Regions from separate parts of the Homo sapiens genome. Here all the other regions are linked to region 2. The links are contacts of gene promoters, found by promoter capture Hi-C in human tissues and cell types (Jung and others, 2019). All regions are on one chromosome and are shown on one strand. Each heading gives the region's core, a stretch centred on a gene start or on the middle of the fragment in contact. The rest is flanking DNA. Distances are from core to core; before and after follow the strand shown.

Region 1 (3,699 bases), core at 1,125-3,624, 200 kb before region 2:
GCTGCAACTTGGCTAGACATGGGCTGGACAGTTTTTTTTTTTTAAATCTTAAATTTGATAAACAAAAGAGTTCACATAGCAGGCTTGAATTAACTGAAATTTGGAAAATTTCTAGACAAAACTAACTATTCCTATTGTCCTTCCTTTTATGGGTTGAAGGAGCAAATCTCCATGGTACCTAATGGCCATTTTAGAAAACCCCATAGGCCGGGCGCGGTGGCTCACGCCTGTAATCCCGGCACTTTGGGAGGCTGAGGCGGGTGGATCACGACATCAGGAGTTCAAGACCGGCCGGCCAAGATGGTGAAACCCTGCCTCTACTAAAAATACAAAAAATTATCCAGGCGTGGTGGCGGGCACCTGTAATCCCAGCTACTTGGGAGGCTGAGGCAGAGAATTGCTTGAACCCAGGAGGTGGAGGTTGCAGTGAGCCAAGATCATGCCACTGCACTCTAGCCTGGGTGACAGAGAGAGACTCTGTCTCAAAAGAAAAAGAAAAAGAAAAAGAAAAGAAAAGAAAACCCTATAAATATAGTTTATTCATAAAAGACAACTTTATAGTTTTTTTTTAAAAAAAGTCTGACTGACTTTTAGATAGGCAAAACCAAGAATAGTTAGTAATTAGACAAAATAGGCTGGGCATGGTGGCTCATGCCTGTAATCCCAGCACTTTCGGAGGCCAAGGTGGGAAGATCAGTTGAATTCAGGAGTTCAAGACTAGTCTGAGCAACATAATGAGATCTCGTCTTTACTAAAAATCAAAAAAATTAGTCAGGTGTGATGATGTGTGTCTATAGTCCCAGCTATTTGGGAAGCTGAGGCAGAAGGATTGCTTGAGCCTGGGAGATGGAAGCTGTAGTAAGCTATGTTCCTGCCACTGCACTCCAGCCTGGGTGGCAGAATGAGACTCTATCTCAATTGAAAAAAAAAAAGAAGACAAGATACAAGTCATATATATCTAAAGATAAATATGCCATTATTTTCTATAGGGTAAACTAAAAGTTAGAGACTCTGAATCATGACAAAACCCCTTAGTCTTTAAATCTATTTCTTTTTATCTCATAACTTAGTAACATAGACTACTATGTAAATACACTTTTAAGTGTTCACAAAAAGAAACCCTAACAGTTTAATAAAGATTTTAGACTTTAAAAACATTTACTTACATATTTTAATTGACAAATACAAATTATATATGTTTATCATGTATGTTGTTTTGAAATATACATTATGAAATGGCTAATTTGAGCTAATTAACATTTGTACTACCTCACATACTTATTTTGTATGTATGTAGCGAGAACACTTAAAATCTACTCTCTTAGAAATTTTCAAGATCTTTTAGACATTTTTGGCTGCTTATCTGGACTAGTTATTCCTAGAGTATGCACGTAATAACAGAGTGACTTTTATTTCTAAGTTAATTTTTAATGTTTTCCAAGAGAGGGGAAAAAAGGAGGGAAAGGAACAGAACAAAAGAGAGGAGATCCTCATTAGCATAGTGGTGAGCCAAAAAAAAAGAGGCAAAACTGGCTTCAGACAAATATGAATACTGTAGAAGACTAATTATATTCCTTCTTCAAGGAGAGGAGAGAAAGCTTAGATGCAGGAAAACCCATTTTCACATATAGACATACAACAGAGAGTTATTATGGCTGGTTGAAACAGTAGCTCTGACCTTCCACAATTTTATAAGTGATACAATTTAAAAGCCAGCATTTATTAACTCCTGAAGTACAGAAATGAAGGAGGGGTGTCTTCTACATGAAACAAAACAATCACTCCATCTTAATCAGGCAAGATGAAAAACCTCCTTAAAAGGATTTCTTCGGCTGGGCGCGGTGGCTCACGCCTGTAATCCCAGCACTTTGGGAGGCTAAGGCGGGCAGATCACGAGGTCAGAAGATGAGATCCAGACCATCCTAGCTAACACAGTGAAACCCCGTCTCTACCAAAAAACAGAAAAAATTAGCCAGGCATGGTGGCGGATGCCTGTAGTCCCAGCTACTCGGGAGGCTGAGGCAGGAGAATGGCGTGAGCCCGGGAGGCGGAGCTTGCAGTGAGCCGAGATCGCGCCACTGCACTCCAGCCTGGGCGACAGAGCGAGACTCCGTCTCAAAAAAAAAAAAAAAGGATTTCTTCTCTTTATGTTCTAAGGTACCTCTCAAAAGAACAAAGTAGTCTCTGTAAATAGTTCACTTAAGTGTTTGCTGCAATTGCAAACGGTCCCTGGTAAAATTGTGACAGACAGAGAAGCATACAAGATAATGTGATAGTGAGAAACCATACAGGAATTGAGCATTTGGCCTAGATGAGGCTCAGTTTGGGATGAGGCAGAACACGTGAAATGTCAATGGTCCATAGGATGGTGCTTGTCCAGAGCTTGGCCAAAGGCCAGGCTGCCACTGATGACAGGCTAGCTAAACCTCCCAAGTTGGGCAGACAAAACTAAACAAATTAGTCCCCAAAGACACAAAGATAAGATAAGGGAAGAGCCAGGTATAGCGGTGTGCTCTTGCAATCCCAGCTGTTTAGGAAGCTTGAGCCTGAGAGTTCGAGGCCAGCCTAGTCAACATAGTGAGACCCCATCTCTTAAAAAAGAGAAAAAGGGGGCCGGGCATGGTGGCTCACCTGTAATCCCAGCGCTTTGGGAGGCTGAGGCAGGTGGACCACAAGGTCAGGAGTTTGAGACCAGCCTGACCAACATGGTGAAACCCCATCTCTACTAAAAATACAAAAAATTAGCCGGGCATGGTGGCAGGCACCCTGTAATCCCAGCTACTTGGGAGGCTGAGGCAGGAGAATTGCTTGAACCTGGGAGGTGGAGGTTGGAGTGAGCCAAGATCGCACCACTGCACTCCAGCCCAGGCGACGACGTGAGACTCTGTCTCAAAAAAAGAAAAAAAAAAAAAAAGAAAAGAAAAGAAAAGAAAAAAAGGATGAGGTAAGATAAAATAAGATTGAGAAAGAAGTCCTTATAAGGATTTGAAGTGGTGACCCGAGACAAAGTCTGTCCAAAGGACACCATACTATGGAGGCTTTCTGAAGTCCTCAACCCCTTGTGTACTGGCTTGAGGGACTGTCTTATTGGATCTTTACCTGTCTTCTCCCTATAGATGTTTCCTGTTCCCTTTTCCCAGAGACATGCATGAGTTGCTCCCTTATCTCCTACTGGTCTTTGCTCCAATATCATCTTCTCAGACCTCCCCTTGCCACCTATTAAAAATGACAAATCTTGTTTATACTCTTGACTTAGTCTCTTCTTTATTTTTCTCCACTGCACTTATCACCATCTAACATACTACATATTTTCCTATTTGTTTGCTTTCTCTCTCCTTCCACTAGAATGAAAGCTCCCAGAGGGATTTTTTTTTCTGTTTCCGTCTTGACTATAACAATGCCTTTCACATAAACAAATGTACCCAATTTAAATTTGAGGGATCAATGAATTGTCTATGGCAGTGGCAGTGAAGACAAAAGCCTTAAATGGAGCCTAAAATATCCTTACAACAAGAAGTGCCCCTTCCTCAATTACAAAACATTTGTTTCTGGGGTATGGTATTAGTTCCATAAGCTAGAAGAGAAAACTTACAGCAGGTGAAAACTACTGTGAAGAGGCCGGGTGTGGCAGCTCACGCCTATAATCCCAGCACTTTGGGAGGCCGAGGCGGGCAGATCACGAGGTCGGGAGTTCGAGAC
Region 2 (3,741 bases), core at 1,233-3,732:
AAGAAAAAAAGGACTCAAGCAGAAATTCTGGAAGCAAAAATACAATAACTGAAATGTACAATTCACTAGGGGCAATCAACAACTAATTTAAGCAGAAAAAAAAGGATCAGTATTCTTGATGATAAGACAATTAAAATTATCAAGTATGAGAAGAAAAATAAACGAGCCTCAGGGATACCATCAAATGTACCTCATCACAGGAGTCTCAGGAGGAGAAGAGAGGGAACAGGGCATTAAAAAAATTGAAGAAATAATGACAAAACATCTGAAATCTGATGAAAAGCATGAATATACATACCCAAGAAGTTCACAAACTCTAAGAAGGATAAACTCAGAGATCCACACCAAGACAAATTATAGTCAAATTGTTGAAACCCAAAGATTTTAAAAGCAGCAAGAGAGAAGTAACTCATTATGTACAAGAGATTCTCAATAAGATTACCAGCTGATTTCAGAAACCATGGGAGGCCAAAAGACAATGGGGGATATATTTAAAGACTGAAGAAAAAAAAAAGTCAAACAAGAATTCTATATATCCAGCAAAACTATGCTGCAAGAATTAAGGAGAAATAAGACATTTCCAGATAAACAAAACTTAGGAAGTTCATTAATAGTAGACCTGCCCACAAGAAAAGCTAACGGGAGAAAGAAAAAACAAACAAACAAACAAACAAATGCTAAAGGAAGACCTTCAGAATGAAACAAAAGGACAAAAAATAATAACTCACAGCCACACAAAGAAACAAAGATCTCTGATAAACATAACAACATAGCAGGCTGGGCGCAGTGGCTCATGTCTGTAATCCCAGCACTTTGGGAGGCCAAGGTGAGCGGATCATTTGAGGTCAGGAGTTTGAGACCAACCAGGCCAACATGGTGAAACCCCATCTCTACAAAAAATAGAAAAATTAGCTGGATGTGGTGACAGGTGCCCATAATCCCAGTTACTCGGGAGGCTGAGGCAGGAGAATGGCTTGAACCCGGAGGGTGGAGGTTGCAGTGAGCCAAGATCACGCCACTGCACTCCAGCCTGGGCGAAAGAGTGAGACTCTGTCTCAAAAAAAAAAAAAAAAAAGTAACAACATTGCCAGGTATGCTGGTTCACACTTGTAATCCCATTACTTTGGGAGGCCAAGGCGGGTGAATTGCTTGAGGTCAGGCGTTCGAGACTAGCCTGGGCAACATAGTGAGACCTCGTGTCTACAAAAAATACAAAAATTAGCCAGGCATGGTGGCCCCACTACTCAGGAGACTGAGGTGGAAGGATCACTTGAGCCCAGGAGGTCGAGGCTGCTGTGAGCTGAGATTGTGCCACCGCACTCCAGCCTGGGTGACAAAGCGAGACCCTGTGTCAAAAAAAAAAAAAAAGATAAAAGCTAGTATTGTATTTTTAGTTTGTAGCCCCACTTTTTTCTATATAATTTAAAAGGAAAATGCATTAAACAATAATTATAAATCTATGTCAATGGGAACACAATGTATAAAGATGTAATCTGTGACAATAACAATATAAAGAAGGGACTAAAATGTATACGAGCAAAATGTTTATATACCATTGAAACTAAGTTGGTATTATTCAAACTAGGTTGTTATCAGTTTAGAATGTTAATTATAATCACCAAGGTATCCATTAGGAAAATAACTACAAAATATATAGAAAAGGAAAGCAAAGGGGAATCAAAATGGTTATGCTACAGACCAGGTGCAGTCGCTCATACCTATAATTCCAGCACTTTGGGTGGCCAAGGCAGGAGGATCGCTTGAGCCCAGGAGTTCAAGACCAGACTGGGCAACATAGCAAGACCTCATCTCTAGAAAAAATAAAAATGAAAAATGAAAACAGTAGCCGGACGTAGTGGCATGTGCCTGTGGTCCCAGCTCCTCAAGAGGCTGAGGCAGGCAGATCATTTGAGCCCAGGAGCTCAAGACTAGCCTGGGCTAGACATCGTGAAACCTCGTCTCTACAAAAAAAAAATAGAAAAATCAGCCAGGCGCAGTGGTGCTTGCCTGTAGTCCCAGCTCCTGGGGAGGTTGAGGTAGGAGGATCACTCGAGCCCAGGAGGCGGAGATTTCAGTGAGCCAAGATCAACCACTGCACTCCAGCCTGGGTGACAGAGTTAGACCCTGTCTCAAAAAAAAAAAAAAAAAAAAGAACTCTTACAATTTAATAATCAGATTTGCTGGAAGGAGGGGAAGGGTATGGATCCTGGAGCGTAGTGAGGAGACAGTCATGGTGTTCCAGGGGAGAGGCAGTGAGGCCTGCATGAAAGCAGTAGCTGGGAATAGAAGGAAGGCTCAGGCCCAGACATATTCAACTAATGAGGACATAAAATTTGGCAGCTGAGGACTGTCCACTTAGTTTGAGATAAGTGGGGCTGGGTGCCAGCAAATCCAGCTTTCAGGAAGGAAAAGGAGTGGGGATAAGTTAAGGGAAGTGAAAGTGTCTAGCTACATAAATAGCAGGCCAATCCCAGCCCACGCACAGACCCCCAACTTGCAGCTGCCCACCTCACCCTCAGCTCTGGCCTCTTACTCACCCTCTACCACAGACATGGCTCAGTCACTGGCTCTGAGCCTCCTTATCCTGGTTCTGGCCTTTGGCATCCCCAGGACCCAAGGTACCAAGGCAGGGAGGGGCCTTGCATGGGGCTAAGGGGATCAAGAGGCCTGGATAGGAGCTTGCCAGCAGCCCCTGGCTCCCTGTGAATCCCACCCTGCAGGCAGTGATGGAGGGGCTCAGGACTGTTGCCTCAAGTACAGCCAAAGGAAGATTCCCGCCAAGGTTGTCCGCAGCTACCGGAAGCAGGAACCAAGCTTAGGCTGCTCCATCCCAGCTATCCTGTGAGTGGACACAAAGGGGTGGGTACTGGCTGGTGACGGGGTGGGGAGGGCATGGTGGGCAAGACTAAGAAGGCTTACTAGCCCCCACCCGCAGGTTCTTGCCCCGCAAGCGCTCTCAGGCAGAGCTATGTGCAGACCCAAAGGAGCTCTGGGTGCAGCAGCTGATGCAGCATCTGGACAAGACACCATCCCCACAGAAACCAGCCCAGGGCTGCAGGAAGGACAGGGGGGCCTCCAAGACTGGCAAGAAAGGAAAGGGCTCCAAAGGCTGCAAGAGGTGAGGAATCTGAGGGATGTGGGTAAAGGGGAGCCTCAGTCAGCCCCTCACACCCCTCTTCTGCCCTCACAGGACTGAGCGGTCACAGACCCCTAAAGGGCCATAGCCCAGTGAGCAGCCTGGAGCCCTGGAGACCCCACCAGCCTCACCAGCGCTTGAAGCCTGAACCCAAGATGCAAGAAGGAGGCTATGCTCAGGGGCCCTGGAGCAGCCACCCCATGCTGGCCTTGCCACACTCTTTCTCCTGCTTTAACCACCCCATCTGCATTCCCAGCTCTACCCTGCATGGCTGAGCTGCCCACAGCAGGCCAGGTCCAGAGAGACCGAGGAGGGAGAGTCTCCCAGGGAGCATGAGAGGAGGCAGCAGGACTGTCCCCTTGAAGGAGAATCATCAGGACCCTGGACCTGATACGGCTCCCCAGTACACCCCACCTCTTCCTTGTAAATATGATTTATACCTAACTGAATAAAAAGCTGTTCTGTCTTCCCACCCAAGTACCTGTTCCCATGTGTTTATGTCCACCGAGATGCCAAGGTTCCTACAGGGTGGGGTCACACACTCTGAGCCGAAAGCTCAGGCTGAAAAATGCTATGTTCTCATCTACCCCAAGAGTTTCCTTGCC
Region 3 (3,803 bases), core at 1,300-3,799, 140 kb before region 2:
GGTCTGAAGCACAGAGCCAGGTGGAGCCTCAGCAGAGTGCTTGGGCACACAGGAAGACCCAGGAGTTTTGCATACTCCAACTCAGGAATTCCAGCAAGACAGGAATTCTGTCCGTGCACTCCCCTAGGAATGGGGCTGAATCTAAAGAGTCAAGTGGCGTTATCCCACGGGCCCCACTCCCATGGCACCTCACAAGTTAAGACCTACTGGCTTGGAATTCCAGCTGGCCAGTGGCAGCAGGCTGGAGATAGCCTGAGATGGACCAAGTTCCTAGGGGGAAGAGTGGCCGCCATCTCTGTGGTTTGAGTCAGCTGTTCTAGCCTGCTGGCACCAGGGATGGGGAGGAGTTCCTCACAATGCAACACAACTGCTATACCTGACTGTGGCCAGTCAGTTTTGTTAAGTGGGACCCTGATCCATCCCTTCTCACTGGGTGGTGCCTCCCTGCAGAAATTTTAGCAACTCCAGCCAGGGCTATATGTACAGAACTCTGATCTCTCCCTGGGATAGAGTCCCCATCGGGAGGGGCAGCCACTGTCTTTGTGGTTCAGCCAACTTATTCTTTACAGCCTGCTGGCTCTGGAGAGTCCAGGCAGTCAGTGCAGCACACCTGCTCTGCCAAGGGGCAGCCAGACTGCTTCTTTAAGCAGGTCCCTGATCCCATTCCTCCTGACTGGGTGAGACCTCCCAACAGGGGTCTCCAGACACCTCCTACAGGAGCATTCTGGCTGGCATTAGGTTGGTGCCCCCCTGGGACGGAGCTCCTAGAGGAAGAAGCAGGCTGCCATCTTTGCTGTTTTGCAGCCTTAACTGGTAATACCTCTAGGTGCAGGAGGGACCAAGGCAACTGGGGTCTGGAGTGCACACCCAGCAAACCATAGCAGCCCTACAGAAGAGTGGCCTGACTGTTAAAAGAAAAACAAACAGAAAGCAACAACAACAATAACATCAACAAGAAGACCCCACAATAATCCCACTTAAAGGTCAGCAAACTCAAAGACTGAATGTAGATTAGCCCACAAAGATGAGAAAGAATCAACACAAAAATACTGAAAACTCAAAAAGATAGAGTGCCTCTTCTCCAAATGATCACAACACCTCTCCAGCAAGGGCACAGAACTAGGCTGAGGCTGAGAAGGCTGAAATGACAGAAGTAGGCTTCAGAAGGTGGGTAATGATGAACTTCACTGGGCTAAAGAAGCATGTTCCAACCCAATACAAAGAAGCTAAGAATCATGGTAAAACAATACAGGAACTGATAACCAGAATATCCAGCTTAGAGAGAAACATAGCTGACCTGATAGAGCTAAAAAACACAACACAAGAACTTCATAATGCAATCACAAATATCAACAGCAGAATAGATCAAGCAGAGGAAAGAATCTCAGAGTTTGAAGACTATCTTTCTGAAATAAGACAGGCAGACAAGAATAGAGAAAAAGAATGAAAAGGAATGTATGAAATCTCTGAGAAATATGGGATTATGTAAAAAGACTGAACCTATGACTGATTAGGGTACCTGAAAGAGACAAGGAGAAGGAAAACAAGTCAGAAAACATGCTTCAGGATATCATCCAGGAGAACTTCCCCAACTTAGCAAGACAGGCCAACATTCAAATTCAGGAAGTCCAGAGAACCCCAGTAAGATACTCCACAAGATCAACCCCAAGACACATAATCATCAGATTCTCCAGGGTTTAAATGAAAGAAAAAATGCTAAGAGCAGCCAGAAGGAAAGGCCAGGTCATCTACAAAGGAAGTCCACCAGGCTAACAGTGGACCTCTCAGTGGAAACACTATAAGCCAGAAGAGATTGGGGGCCAATATTCAACATTCTTAAAGAAAAGAATTTCTAACCCAGAATTTAATATCCAGCCAAACTAAGCTTCATAAGCAAAGGAGAAATAAGATCCTTTTCAGGACAAGCAAATGTTAAGGGAATTCGTCACCACCAGGCCTGCCTTGCAAGAGCTCTTGAAATAAGCACTACATAGGGAAAGGAAAAACTGTTACCAGCCACTAAAGAAGCACACTGAAGTACACAGATCAATGACACTATTAAGCAACCACACAAACAAGTCTGCAAAATAACTAGCTAGCATCATGATGACAGGATCAAATTCACACATAACAATGTTAATCTTAAATGTAAATGGGTTAAATGCCCCAATTAAAAGATACAGAATGGCAAGCTGGATAAAGAGCCAAGCCCCATTGGTATGCTGTCTTCAAGAGACCCATCTAATGTGCAAAGACACACATAGGCTCAAAATAAAAGGATGGGGGAAATTTTACCAAGCAAATGGAAAACAGAAAAAACCAGGGTCATAATCCTAGTTTCTGACAAAACAGACTTTAAACCAACAAAGATCAAAAAAGCCAAAGAAGGGTATTACATATGGTAAAGCATTCAATTCAACAAGAAGAGCTAACTATCCTAAATATACATACACCAATACAGGAGCACTCAAATTCACAAAACAAGTTCTTAGAGACCTTCAAAGAGACTTAGACTCCCACACAATAATAGTGGGAGATTTTAACATCCCACTGACAATATTAGACCGATCATCAAGACAGAAAATTAACAAAGATATTCAGGACCTGAACTCAGCTTTGGATAAAGTGGACCTGATCGATATCTACAGAACTCTTTACCCAAAAATGACAGGATATATATTCTTCTCATTGCCACATGGCACCTACTCTAAAATTGAAAACATAATTAGAAGAAAAATACTTCTCAGCAAATGCAAAATAACTGACATAATAACAAACAGTCTCCCATACTACAGCATAATAAAATTAGAACTCAAGTTTAAGAAACTCACTCAAAGCCACACAACTTCATGGAAATTGACAACCTGCTCCTGAATGATTCGTAGGTAAATAATGAAATTAAGGCAAAAATCAAGAAGTTATTTTTGAAACTAATGAGAACAAAGAAACAATGTACCAGAATCTCTGGGACACAGCTAAAGCAGTGTTAAGAGGGAAATTTATAGTACTAAATGCCCACATCAAAAAGCTAGAAAGATCTCAAATCAACAACCTAGCATAACAACTAAAAGAACTAGAGAACCAAGAGCAAACAAATCCCAAAGCTAGCAGAAGACAAGAAATAACCAAGATCAGAAAAGAACTGAAGGAGACAGAGACACAAAAAAACTCTTCAAAAAAGCAACGAATCTGGAAGCTGATTTTTTTTGAAAAAAAAAAAAAAATAGATAGACTGCTAGCTAGACTAATAAAGAAAAGAGAGAACCAAATAGACACAATCAGAAATGATAAAGGAGATATCACCACTGACCCCACAGAAATACAAACAACCATCAGAGAATACTATAAACACCTCTATGCACATAAACTAGAAGATCTAGAAGAAATGGATAAATTCCTGGACACATACAGCCTCCCAAGACTAAATTAGGAGGAAACTGAATCCCTAAAAAGACCAATAACAAGTTCTAAAATTGAGGCAGTAACAAATAGCCTAGCAACCAAAAAAGCTCAGGACCAGACAGATTTACAGCTGAATCCTACCAGAGGTACAAAGAAGAGCTGGTGCCATTTCTTTTTTTTTTTTTTTTTTTGAGACGGAGTCTCGCTCTGTCACCCAGGCTGGAGTGCAGTGGCGGGATCTCGGCTCACTGCAAGCTCCACCTCCCGGGTTCACGCCATTCTCCTGCCTCAGCCTCCCAAGTAGCTGGGACTACAGGCACCCGCCACTACGCCCGGCTAATTTTTTGTATTTTTAGTAGAGACGGGGTTTCACCGTTTTAGCTGGGATGGTCTCGATCTCC
Region 4 (3,446 bases), core at 717-3,216, 180 kb before region 2:
CTCTCAGAATGCAGAGGTCCTACATGAACTTCAAGCCCAAATACCGGGCTTTGGGTTTCTTAGCCTCAAATGAGACTGATCCGGGTTCTAACTGGTGATGCCCCATCAGCTAACCGCCTGGCTCCGTTCTCCTAGTTCAGCTTTTCAACAAGGTCAACAGAGAACTGACCCCAGCTCCCAGCCTTCTCTGAGGGCCACGCCCTCCCATGGGTCGTCTGAAGCCTTGCCCAACAAGCTCTAGATCGTCAGCCCAGCCCACCTTGCCAAATGGCTTTTTCTTTTTCTTTTCTTTTTTCTTTTTTTTTTTTGAGACAGAGTTTCACTCTTGTTGCCCAGGCTGGAGTACAACGGCACAATCTCGGCTCACTGCAAGCTCCGTCTCCCAGGTTCAAGGGACTCTCCTACCTCTGCCTCCCAAGTAGCTGGGACTACAGGCATACGCCACCATGCCTGGCTAATTTTTGTATTTTTAGTAGAGACGGGGTTTCACCATGTTGGCCAGGCTGATCTCGAACTCCTGACCTCAGGTGATCCATCCACCTCAGCCTCCCAAAGTGCTAGGATTAGAGGCATGAGCCACTATGTCCAGCCTCCAAATAGCATTTTCTTAGGAAGAAAAACAGGGAGGTAGACAACAAGAGAGTGTAGGCTCCAGGATTTTCAGGACTGGGAAAGGACAATGCCAACCCCGGCCCACACTTTTCCGAGAAGGCAGATGTCACTCCATCATTAATGTTTGTCATGTTTCTCTTCCCAGCCAGGGCTGGCTTCCTCAGGAAGGAAGTGTGCGGCGAATCCTGTGTGCAGACCCCTGCTGCCAAATCTGCAATGTTATGGCTCTGGAGATTAAGCAATTGCTGGCAGGTGAGAACAACCAGATCTCCCTGACTTCACTGGGGCCATCACAGGGCTCCTCTTGCCTAGAGGCTTTGTCCACATCTAGTGTGTCTTTTAAGCATAGTCAGGATCTGGGCTCCCCGAAATCCAAAGAGCTTTCACTGGCATCTGTAACTCCAACACTGTCACAATTAATGGATCAGAAATCTTTAACCCAGTCAGCTGCCCGGTCAGCTGGTGCAGACAGCGTCCAAGATTCCTGGGCTGATCACTTTCAGCGAGGACAGAGATCTCAAGTCCCAGCTGTGTCCCAGGTCATGGGATCTCTGTCTTCAAACTTTGAGAAGCCTGGAATTCCTCTGAGCCAGCAGGAGAGGACGAAAAACAACTCCAAATTTGTCCTGGAGAACCAAGGTCAGCAGCCCTTGAATACTAGATTCCCTTTCTTTCCCTGAACCCAGAGCTCCCAAACCTACAACAACAGCCTATGACCCTACATTCCTTTCCAACTGCTATTGCAATGTCCAAAAAGTCCTGAGGAATCTTCAAGTACAAGTGGGATATTGTTGCACATATTCCCACAACTGAGGGCTCCCAAGATCTGTGGAGGAGTTCTGTACAGGGCAGCTTATACCACACCACTTCTAATTTTCCAAAGGATGGAAAACAGACAGACAAACAGCCATTTCTTTCACTCTGAATGCTATCTCTAAGGCTTCTGCTGAACAGATGAGCTTCCATCCCTTTGACTCTGGGTTTCATGGGAGGCTAGCTGGTTCACCTAAGCTTTCAGGGTTTTTGAAGGATCCACTATGGACTCAGAGCAGAAAAATTACTGTGAACAAATCCCAAACCCCATGGTTCTAGCTCTACCCTCTCCTCTCTTTCAGCTTCTAAGTGGCCTCTGTCCACTGCCTAGAGGATGCACTGAGGCCTCAATGTGCCACATCTGTAGCTACCTTACTGTGGTTTCTCTTTTCTGCACATTACTGTCTGCCTTTAGAGATCCCTGGTCTGACTTTAGAAATCTCCAAAACAGGGGAGGCTTTGGCCCTTTCTCTGCAATGATTTCTCCTTCACCTCTGTACTAATTAAAATCTCCCCTCCTTCCCCACCTTTTCCCCCACATTCTCCATCTGACCATTGACAAATCCAGATCAATGTCCTATATCTGACTCAGGCTAAGTGAAAGCCTTGGAGTGGCACCTGCTGTAGAGGCAGCTCCAGCTTCAGTGGAGTTTGCCAGCTGTTGTCCAGAGATCTCTGTAGATCCAGGAAATCATACAATGTAAGCCCTGAGACATGTTGCAGCCTTTCCCACTAGATCCAGGACACTCTTTGATTGGGGAAGTCCATTTCAGTCCTCAAGAGGGAGGAAGCATTCTCCTAGACCATGCCCAGAGGCTGCTAGGATTCCACCTCCAGGAGCAATTGAAACAGAGGGTTGATTTGTCATTGCTGGGACCTGATCCAAAAGATCCAGCAGTCTATCCAGTTCATCCTGTGACCTGATGACCAATAATCCCTGCCCTGGAGCAGTACAGCCCTGACCTATGTGGGTCTTCCCAGCATGCAGCACCAGAAGCTAGTGGGAATAGTGGCCTTCTCTGATCCACTGTGGCAGGAGGGCCAGTCCGCAATTGTTTCCTCAGGCCAAGGTAATGTTGCAGAGCCACATAGATTACAAATATGGGAAGATCTGCTAGGGCATTGTCCCTGCCCATATCTGCCATTGTTGGGACTACAAATCACTGGTTCTGCAGTATTCCAAAGGCCTGGGAAGCAACTTGGCGCCCCTGTCCTCTGAAAAGCAAACACCTGGACCTGGAAGTGACACATATCAGCCCCTACACAGATCAGGAAAGGACACTCTGAATACTGACAGGCCTTGATCAGCAGCAACAGGGCTTGCCAGATGCTGTTACTGATGATCCTGAGCTGCCCAGACCCTGTCCCAGGAAGCCACTGAGAAACTTGAGACAAGTTTTGGCCCTTCTGTCAGGGCTGCCTGCTCTCTATTATGTGGCTCTTTCCAGGGCTGTGGCCCAGGCAATCACTCACGAATCCACAATCACAGATTGAGCCCATCAGAGCCTCTGACTCAATCTCATCTGAACAGCAATGTGTAAGTCCTGGGCCATGCTTTCAAAACACCAATGAAGCTTGTGTAGATAACGTACAAGTGTTCTGCACTAAAACACAAGCTGATGGAGATGGTACCGCTAGAGAGGCAGACAGATCCTCACAGCCCCTAATCACTCAAGGCACCCATCTTGGCCAAACTAAATTTCTACCTGAAAAATAAATTCCTTGAGATACATTTGGGAAGTCCCATAAAAACAAGGGAATCCAGGGAACAAATTTTCACCATCCCAAAGAATATCTCCACACAGGGATCCTTTAGGAGTCTAAAGATTGCTAAACCAAGGGAAAACATTACTCCAGAAACTTCATATCCCACCAGGCATCCCATGGGCCCCAGATCCAGAAGGGGTTGGACTGAAAGAACAGCTTGCCGTTGAACTAAAGACAGTGCAGCAGAGCTACAAGTGATCTAGTTCCATAGCAGTACCCCATGCCCACTGGGATTCTGGGATCTCACACCCAGT
Region 5 (3,402 bases), core at 729-3,228, 160 kb before region 2:
TTAAGAGGCAGAAACAACTTATTTAGTAATTCCCCCTATTAGGGGAATTACTAAATAACTTGTGATATACTCATGCTATAACAAAGAGAAAAAAACAGAGTCAATCCAACAGGAACAAAATGTCTGGAGCAACAAATCTCAAATGGTGAATTGGTTAGATCCTGGGCAGGCAGTGGGGTACATATAAGAAACTCCAGAAAGAGGTGAGAAACGAGTGGATTGAAAAAGCATATCCCTTGTTATTTTGAGATACGTCCCATTAATACCTAATTTATTGAGAGTTTTTAGCATGAAAGGTTGTTGAATTTTGTCAAAGGCCTTTTCTGCATACTGAATGGGCAAAAACTGGAAGGATTCCCTTTGAAAACCGGCACAAGACAGGGATGCCCTCTCTCACCATTCCTATTCAACATAATGTTGGAAGTGCTGGCCAGGGCAATTAGGCAGGAGAAGGAAATAAAGGGTATTCAATTAGGAAAAGAGGAAGTCCAATTGTCCCTGTTTGCAGATGACATGATTGTATATCTAGAAAACCCCATTGTCTCAGCCCAAAATCTCCTTAAGCTGATAAGCAACTTCAGCAAAGTCTCAGGATACAAAATCAATGTGCAAAAATCACAAGCATTCTTATACACCAGTAACAGACAAACAGCCAAATCATGAGTGAACTTCCATTCACAATTGCTTCAAAGAGAATAAAATACCTAGGAATCCAACCAGATGTGAAGGACCTCTTCAAGGAGAACTACAAACCACTGCTCAATGAAATAAAAGAGGATACAAACAAATGGAAGAACATTCCATGCTCATGGGTAGGAAGAATCAATATCATGAAAATGGCCATACTGCCCAAGGTAATTTATAGATTCAATGCCATCCCCATCAAGCTACCAATGACTTTCTTCACAGAATTGGAAAAAACTACTTTAAAGTTCATATGGAACCAAAAAAGAGCCCACACCACCAAGTCAATCCTAAGCCAAAAGAACAAAGCTGGAGGCATCACGCTACCTGACTTCAAACTATACTACAAGGCTACAGTAACCAAAACAGCATGGTACTGTTACCAAAACAGAGATATAGATCAATGGAACAGAACAGAGCCCTCAGAAATAATGCCGCATATCTACAACCATCTGATCTTTGACAAACCTGACAAAAACAAGAAATGGGGAAAGGATTCCCTATTTAATAGATGGTGCTGGGAAAACTGGCTAGCCATATGTAGAAAGCTGAAACTGGATCTCTTCCTTACACCTTATACAAAAATTAATTCAAGATGGATTAAAGACTTACATGTTAGACCTAAAACCATAAAAACCCTAGAAGAAAACCTAGGCAATACCATTCAGGACATAGGCATGGGCAAGGACTTCATGTCTAAAACACCAAAAGCAAAGGCAACAAAAGCCAAAATTGACAAATGGGATCTAATTAAACTAAAGAGCTTCTGCACAGCAAAAGAAACTACCATCAGAGTGAACAGGCAACCTACAGAATGGGAGAAAATTTTCACAACCTACTCATCTGACAAAGGGCTAATATCCAGAATCTACAATGAACTCAAACAAATTTACAAGAAAAAAACAAACAACCCCATCAAAAAGTGGGCAAAGGACATGAACAGACACTTCTCAAAAGAAGACATTTATGCAGCCAAAAAACACATGAAAAAATGCTCATCACTGGCCATCAGAGAAATGCAAATCAAAACCACAATGAGATACCATCTCACACCAGTTAGAATGGCAATCATTAAAAAGTCAGGAAACAACAGGTGCTGGAGAGGATGTGGAGAAATAGGAACACTTTTACACTGTTGGTGGGACTGTAAACTAGTTCAACCATTGTGGAAGTCAGTGTGGCGATTCCTCAGGGATCTAGAACTGGAAATACCATTTGAGCCAGCCATCCCATTACTGGGTATATACCCAAAGGATTATACATCATGCTGCTATAAAGACACATGCACACGTATGTTTATTGCGGCATTATTCACGATAGCAAAGACTTGGAACCAACCCAAATGTCCAACAATGATAGACTGGATTAAGAAAATGTGGCACATATACACCATGGAATACTATGCAGCCATAAAAAATGATGAGTTCATGTCCTTTGTAGGGACATGGGTGAAATTGGGAATCATCATTCTCAGTAAACTATCGCAAGAACAAAAAACCAGACACCGCATATTCTCACTCATAGGTGGGAACTGAACAATGAGATCACATGGACACAGGAAGGGGAATATCACACTCTGGGGACTGTTGTGGGGTGGGGGGAGGGGGGAGGGATAGCATTGGGAGATATACCTAATGCTAGATGAAGAGTTAGTGGGTGCAGCGCACCAGCATGGCACATGTATACATATGTAACTAACCTGCACAATGTGCACATGTACCCTAAAACTTAAAGTATAATAATAAAAAAATAAAAAATAAAAAAATAATAAAAATAAAAATAAATTGCTGTTTACATTGGCACTCAAAAGGAAAAAAGAAATACATAGGTATAAACCTAACAAACTATGTACCAGATCTTTATGAGGAAAACAAATAAATATATACATATGCAAAACCCTGATGAAAGATATCAAGGAAGAACTAAATAAATGGAAAGATATTCAACATTCATGAATAGGAAGACAATATTGTCAAGATCTCAGTTCTTCACAACTTGATCTACAGCTTTGATGCAATCCCAATAAAAATTCCAGCAGCTATTTTATGGATAATGACAAATTGCTTCTAAAGTTTAGATGGAGAGGTAAAAGACTATCTCAACATGGAAGGAGAAGACCAAGGTTGGAGGACTGATACTACTCAACTTCAAGACTTATTATAAAGCCACAGTAATCAAGACGGTGTGGTAGTGGTGAAGAACACATAAATCAATGGAACAGAATAGAGAGCCCAGAAACAGATCCACAGAAATATAACTGATCTTTGACAAAGGAGAAAATGGTGCTGGAACAACTGAACATCAATATGCAAAAATGAACCTAGACACAGACCTTACATCCTTTACAAAACTTAATTCAAAATGGATCATAGACCTAAACATAAAACAGAAACCTAAAAAACCCCAAAAGATAACATAGGAGAAAACCTAATGGACCTTGGGTATGATGATGACTTTTTAGGTATAACATCAAAGTCATGATCTGTGAAAGAAATAATTGATAAGCTGGACGTCATTAAAATGAAAAAAGTCTTCTCTCTGAAAGACAATGTCAAAAGAATGAGAAGACACACCACATACTGGAAGAAAATATTTGCAAAATACACATCTGGTAAAGGACTGCTATCCAAAGTATACAAAGCACTCTTAAAACTCGACAATAATAAAATAAGAACTGAATTTAAAAATGGGCAAAAGACTTGGACTCCTCACCAAAGA
Region 6 (3,354 bases), core at 738-3,237, 220 kb before region 2:
ATACCATTCTTTTTTTTTTTTTTTTTTTGATACAGAGTCTTGCTCTGTTGCCCAGGCTGGAGTACAGTGGCACTATCTCGGCTCACTGCAAGCTCCGCCTCTCGGGTTCATGCCATTCTCCTGCCTCAGCCTCCCGAGTAGCTGGGACTACAGGAGCCCGCCACCATGCCCGGCTAATTTTTTGTATTTTTAGTAGAGACAGGGTTTCACCATGTTAGCCAGGATGGTCCGGATCTCCTGACCTCGTGATCCACCGCCTCAGCCTCCCAAAGTGCTGAGATTACAGGCGTGAGCCACCGCGCTCGGCCTCATTATACCATTCTTATGGTGCCACACACTTTTAAACAACCACATCTCATGAAAACTCACTCACCATCAGGAGAACAGCACTGAAGGGATGGTGCTAACCCATTCATGAGAACTTCACCCCATGATCCAATCACCTCCCACCAGGCTCCACTTCCAACATTGGGGATTACAATTCGACATGAGATTTGGGCCGGGACACAAATCCAGACCATATCGCCTACATATGTTTCAAACTGGGATGCAGTTTCCCAATTTATTCCTCACCCTTCAGACACTGAAACAAGTTTATGAACAATATTTAGCTTTTTAACATTAGAATTGGAGTTATAATATTGAAAGATGTTGAAAAGGTAATCTGGGCTAGTTCCTCTCCACATCCCTGACCCTATCTGAGAAGTTTGTTAGCTTCTTTGTTCTTCTAAAAAACATCAATTCCCTAATGGCAAGATTCCATAAGAGAAGAAGAATTGTCATACCATTGCTAGAAATCTTCATAAATACCAGGAGTAAATGTCCCTGATCTTTGTGAAAATGCATTTGGGGCTCCTTCGCTTCCTTCCAGCCCTTTCCGGACATATCCCTTGATTCTGCTCTGGAGGTGAGCACTGGCCACAAAGTCCTGCACTGTCTTTATTTAGGACACCAGGCCCACAGGATTCTGGGTGCCTCCTTCAGTGAAGAGGCTTCTGCACTCTACCCTTGTGTCAGAAATCCCATAAAGTTAAGGAACAAGAGATGGTAAACCATTTCAGGAGATAAATCATTTCAGACACACCCAAATGGGATGTCTTATCTCACGTTCCTTCTCTTTTACCAAAGGAAGAGTCAACCAGGTTATCCCCGACACAAGAGACCCGAAGCATGAGTCTCGGCACCACTTAAGTACACTGAGAAACCTGCACAAACCAGTGGCTCCTCCCAGACACTGAGAAATTAAACTTCAGGCTTGGATGAAGCCCCAGACATTTTAGGGAGATGATCAACAATTTTTCTTCTCTATTTTACGTGGAAATGCTAATTTCACTTGCAAAAGAGAAGCCCCAAAATAGTATTCTTTATGATTATAACAGCAGAAATGTAGGAGTATAAAAGTTGTAATGTTATAGACAAATTAAGCATGAAATGCAAATATAATAGCAGAGTGGGCTGGGTATCCAGATCTCGCTGAAATTCTCTGAAAGGGTTACAATGTAAAGCTTCTTCAGGGGACTAAAGGACCACAGTGTTAGGGAGAAACAGTAGGGGAAAAAAGAGGATGAAGAGTCGGGGAGGCCATCTTAGGTTTGTGATCTCTCTTCAACTCTTCTCAGGAGGCTGATCACAAATTTGAATACTTGCAGCAGTGAATTCTCCCACGGCAGTATGTGTGCTTGAGCTAATAGCTGTTACATGGCGGGGCTGTAGGGGGCGACAATACAGATTGCTGCTTATGGTGACTCTCACAGCTTAACGATATTTGATTACCTGCAAATCTGATTGCTTTAATCCTCTGCTCTAAATTCTTCAACAGATCCCAGTACTAATAGAATAAGATCACTCATCATTCATTAGTTTGCTCATCTCATCCCTTCATTTTTTTCCCCACAAATATTTATTGAGTAATAGACCCTGTGCTAGGTGCTGGAGATGTAGCAGTAAAGAGAACAGAAAAGGGAGTCCCACCCTTGTGGAGTTTGTTCTGGTGGAGACAGACCATAAGCAAATAATTTAAATGGAGATAATAGTTTGATAATAGATTGATGTGGATTTTTTTCACAGACACCCTAACCCAAATCATATTTAAAAAATCCAATCATATTCCCCTGCTGCCATTCCATCAAAATGGTCCCCACCTAACAAACAAAAGGAGCATATGATAAAGGGGAAACTCCCTCCAGAGGAGGTGAAATAAAAAGAAGCACTTTTCATTGACAGTGGGAGTATGGAGGTGGGATGATGCAATAGAAATATTCAGATAGGGAGAAGGGTGACCTGAGATCCTTTGATCTTGGTGACAGGGTACAAGCCTCAGAGAAGCTCTATGTTTGACATGGAGGTGGGGGAGGGAAGAGTGGGCTATAGCACAGCATCTGTGAAGGCAAGTGTCTAGGGAGTGCTGCTGAAATCATGCTGGGTTCCCAGTGGTCTGTATCTAGAAGCGATTCAAAAGTTCCTGTGTAGCCCCAGGGTACCAAGAGGACTGCAAGACCAAGGGACTCCTGGACTACTGAGATGAGAGCAGTAATGGAGTTTGGTGCTTCCAGAGTTCTGGTGGTAGTGTTTGTTTGTCCATCCCAAGTGGATTCTAGGACAGAAGTTAATGGACAGGGATGGATTAGAGATAAGCTGGATGATACATCTCAATTGGAGTCCAGCAGAAAATGGCAACACATAGACCAGCTGTACCCAGGGAAGAGCAGTAAACTTTCCCTTATACAGACACTGTGCTCCCATAGGAGAAGGGAGAGGGGAAGAACAATTCTATAAGGGCTGAACTTTGAATTAATGCTTACCAGGAAGAGACTATCACACATGAAAAGATGGAGGGAGAATGAAAAAAAGACTGGCCTGATAGGAAAGGTTTAGCTCAGGAGAGTCTTTTTTGCCACAAAGCAGAAGCATAAACTTTGTTGACTCATTAGTGGGTTTTAAAAAAATTTTTAATTTTTGTGGGTATATAGGTGTATATATTTATGGGGTACATGAGATGTTTTGATACAGGCAAGCAATGCATAATAATCACATCATGGAGAATGGGGTATCTATCCCTTAAGTATTTATCCTTTGTGTTACAAACAATCCAATTATACTCTTTTAGTTATTTTTAAATGTACAATTATTATTGGCTATAGTCATCCTGTTGTGCCGTCAAAGAGTAGATTTTTTTTTTTTTTTTTTTGAGACAGAGTCTCACTCTTGTTGCCCAGGCTGGAGTGCAATGGCGTGATTTCAGCTTACTGCAACCTTCACCTCCTGGGTTCAAGCGACTCTCCTGTCTCAGCCTCCCAAGTAGCTGGGATTACAGGCACTCTCCACCATGCCTGGCTAATTTTTGTATTTTTAGTA

Evidence for each region. The method cuts DNA at HindIII sites, captures the fragments that hold promoters and counts their contacts. A contact is called where the count stands out against the background at its distance.
Region 1: a contact is called between a fragment that was not itself captured here and the fragment with the promoter of CCL21 in region 2, in 1 of the 25 tissues and cell types used here (H1 embryonic stem cells).
Region 3: a fragment that was not itself captured here is called in contact with the fragment with the promoter of CCL21 in region 2 in 3 of the 25 tissues and cell types used here (dorsolateral prefrontal cortex, liver and pancreas).
Region 4: a contact is called between a fragment that was not itself captured here and the fragment with the promoter of CCL21 in region 2, in 1 of the 25 tissues and cell types used here (H1 embryonic stem cells).
Region 5: a contact is called between a fragment that was not itself captured here and the fragment with the promoter of CCL21 in region 2, in 2 of the 25 tissues and cell types used here (H1 embryonic stem cells and hippocampus).
Region 6: a fragment that was not itself captured here is called in contact with the fragment with the promoter of CCL21 in region 2 in 1 of the 25 tissues and cell types used here (spleen).

The regions. Positions count from the first base shown.
Region 1 is chr9:34,908,058-34,911,756 of GRCh38, reverse strand. It overlaps a transcript of PHF24 not described here. Among named protein-coding and RNA genes, the nearest start is that of SPATA31F3, 14 kb to the right of the region's middle. The HindIII fragment of the contact is 3,933 bases long and covers 408-3,699 here.
Region 2 is chr9:34,708,877-34,712,617 of GRCh38, reverse strand. It overlaps CCL21 (C-C motif chemokine ligand 21), which reads left to right and starts at 2,482. Exons shown (of 4, transcript NM_002989.4): 1 at 2,482-2,618; 2 at 2,721-2,841; 3 at 2,936-3,118; 4 at 3,191-3,613. The coding sequence starts at 2,552. The coding sequence ends at 3,224. It also overlaps a transcript of PHF24 not described here. The HindIII fragment of the contact is 9,492 bases long and covers 1-3,741 here.
Region 3 is chr9:34,853,618-34,857,420 of GRCh38, reverse strand. It overlaps a transcript of PHF24 not described here. Among named protein-coding and RNA genes, the nearest start is that of SPATA31F3, 40 kb to the left of the region's middle. The HindIII fragment of the contact is 5,500 bases long and covers 1-3,803 here.
Region 4 is chr9:34,890,464-34,893,909 of GRCh38, reverse strand. It overlaps SPATA31F3 (SPATA31 subfamily F member 3), which reads left to right. Exons shown (of 5, transcript NM_001309427.2): 4 at 758-864. It also overlaps a transcript of PHF24 not described here. Among named protein-coding and RNA genes, the nearest start is that of SPATA31F3, 3.6 kb to the left of the region's middle. The HindIII fragment of the contact is 4,006 bases long and covers 1-3,446 here.
Region 5 is chr9:34,871,241-34,874,642 of GRCh38, reverse strand. It overlaps a transcript of PHF24 not described here. Among named protein-coding and RNA genes, the nearest start is that of SPATA31F3, 23 kb to the left of the region's middle. The HindIII fragment of the contact is 5,156 bases long and covers 1-3,402 here.
Region 6 is chr9:34,928,050-34,931,403 of GRCh38, reverse strand. It overlaps a transcript of PHF24 not described here. Among named protein-coding and RNA genes, the nearest start is that of PHF24, 29 kb to the left of the region's middle. The HindIII fragment of the contact is 4,030 bases long and covers 1-3,354 here.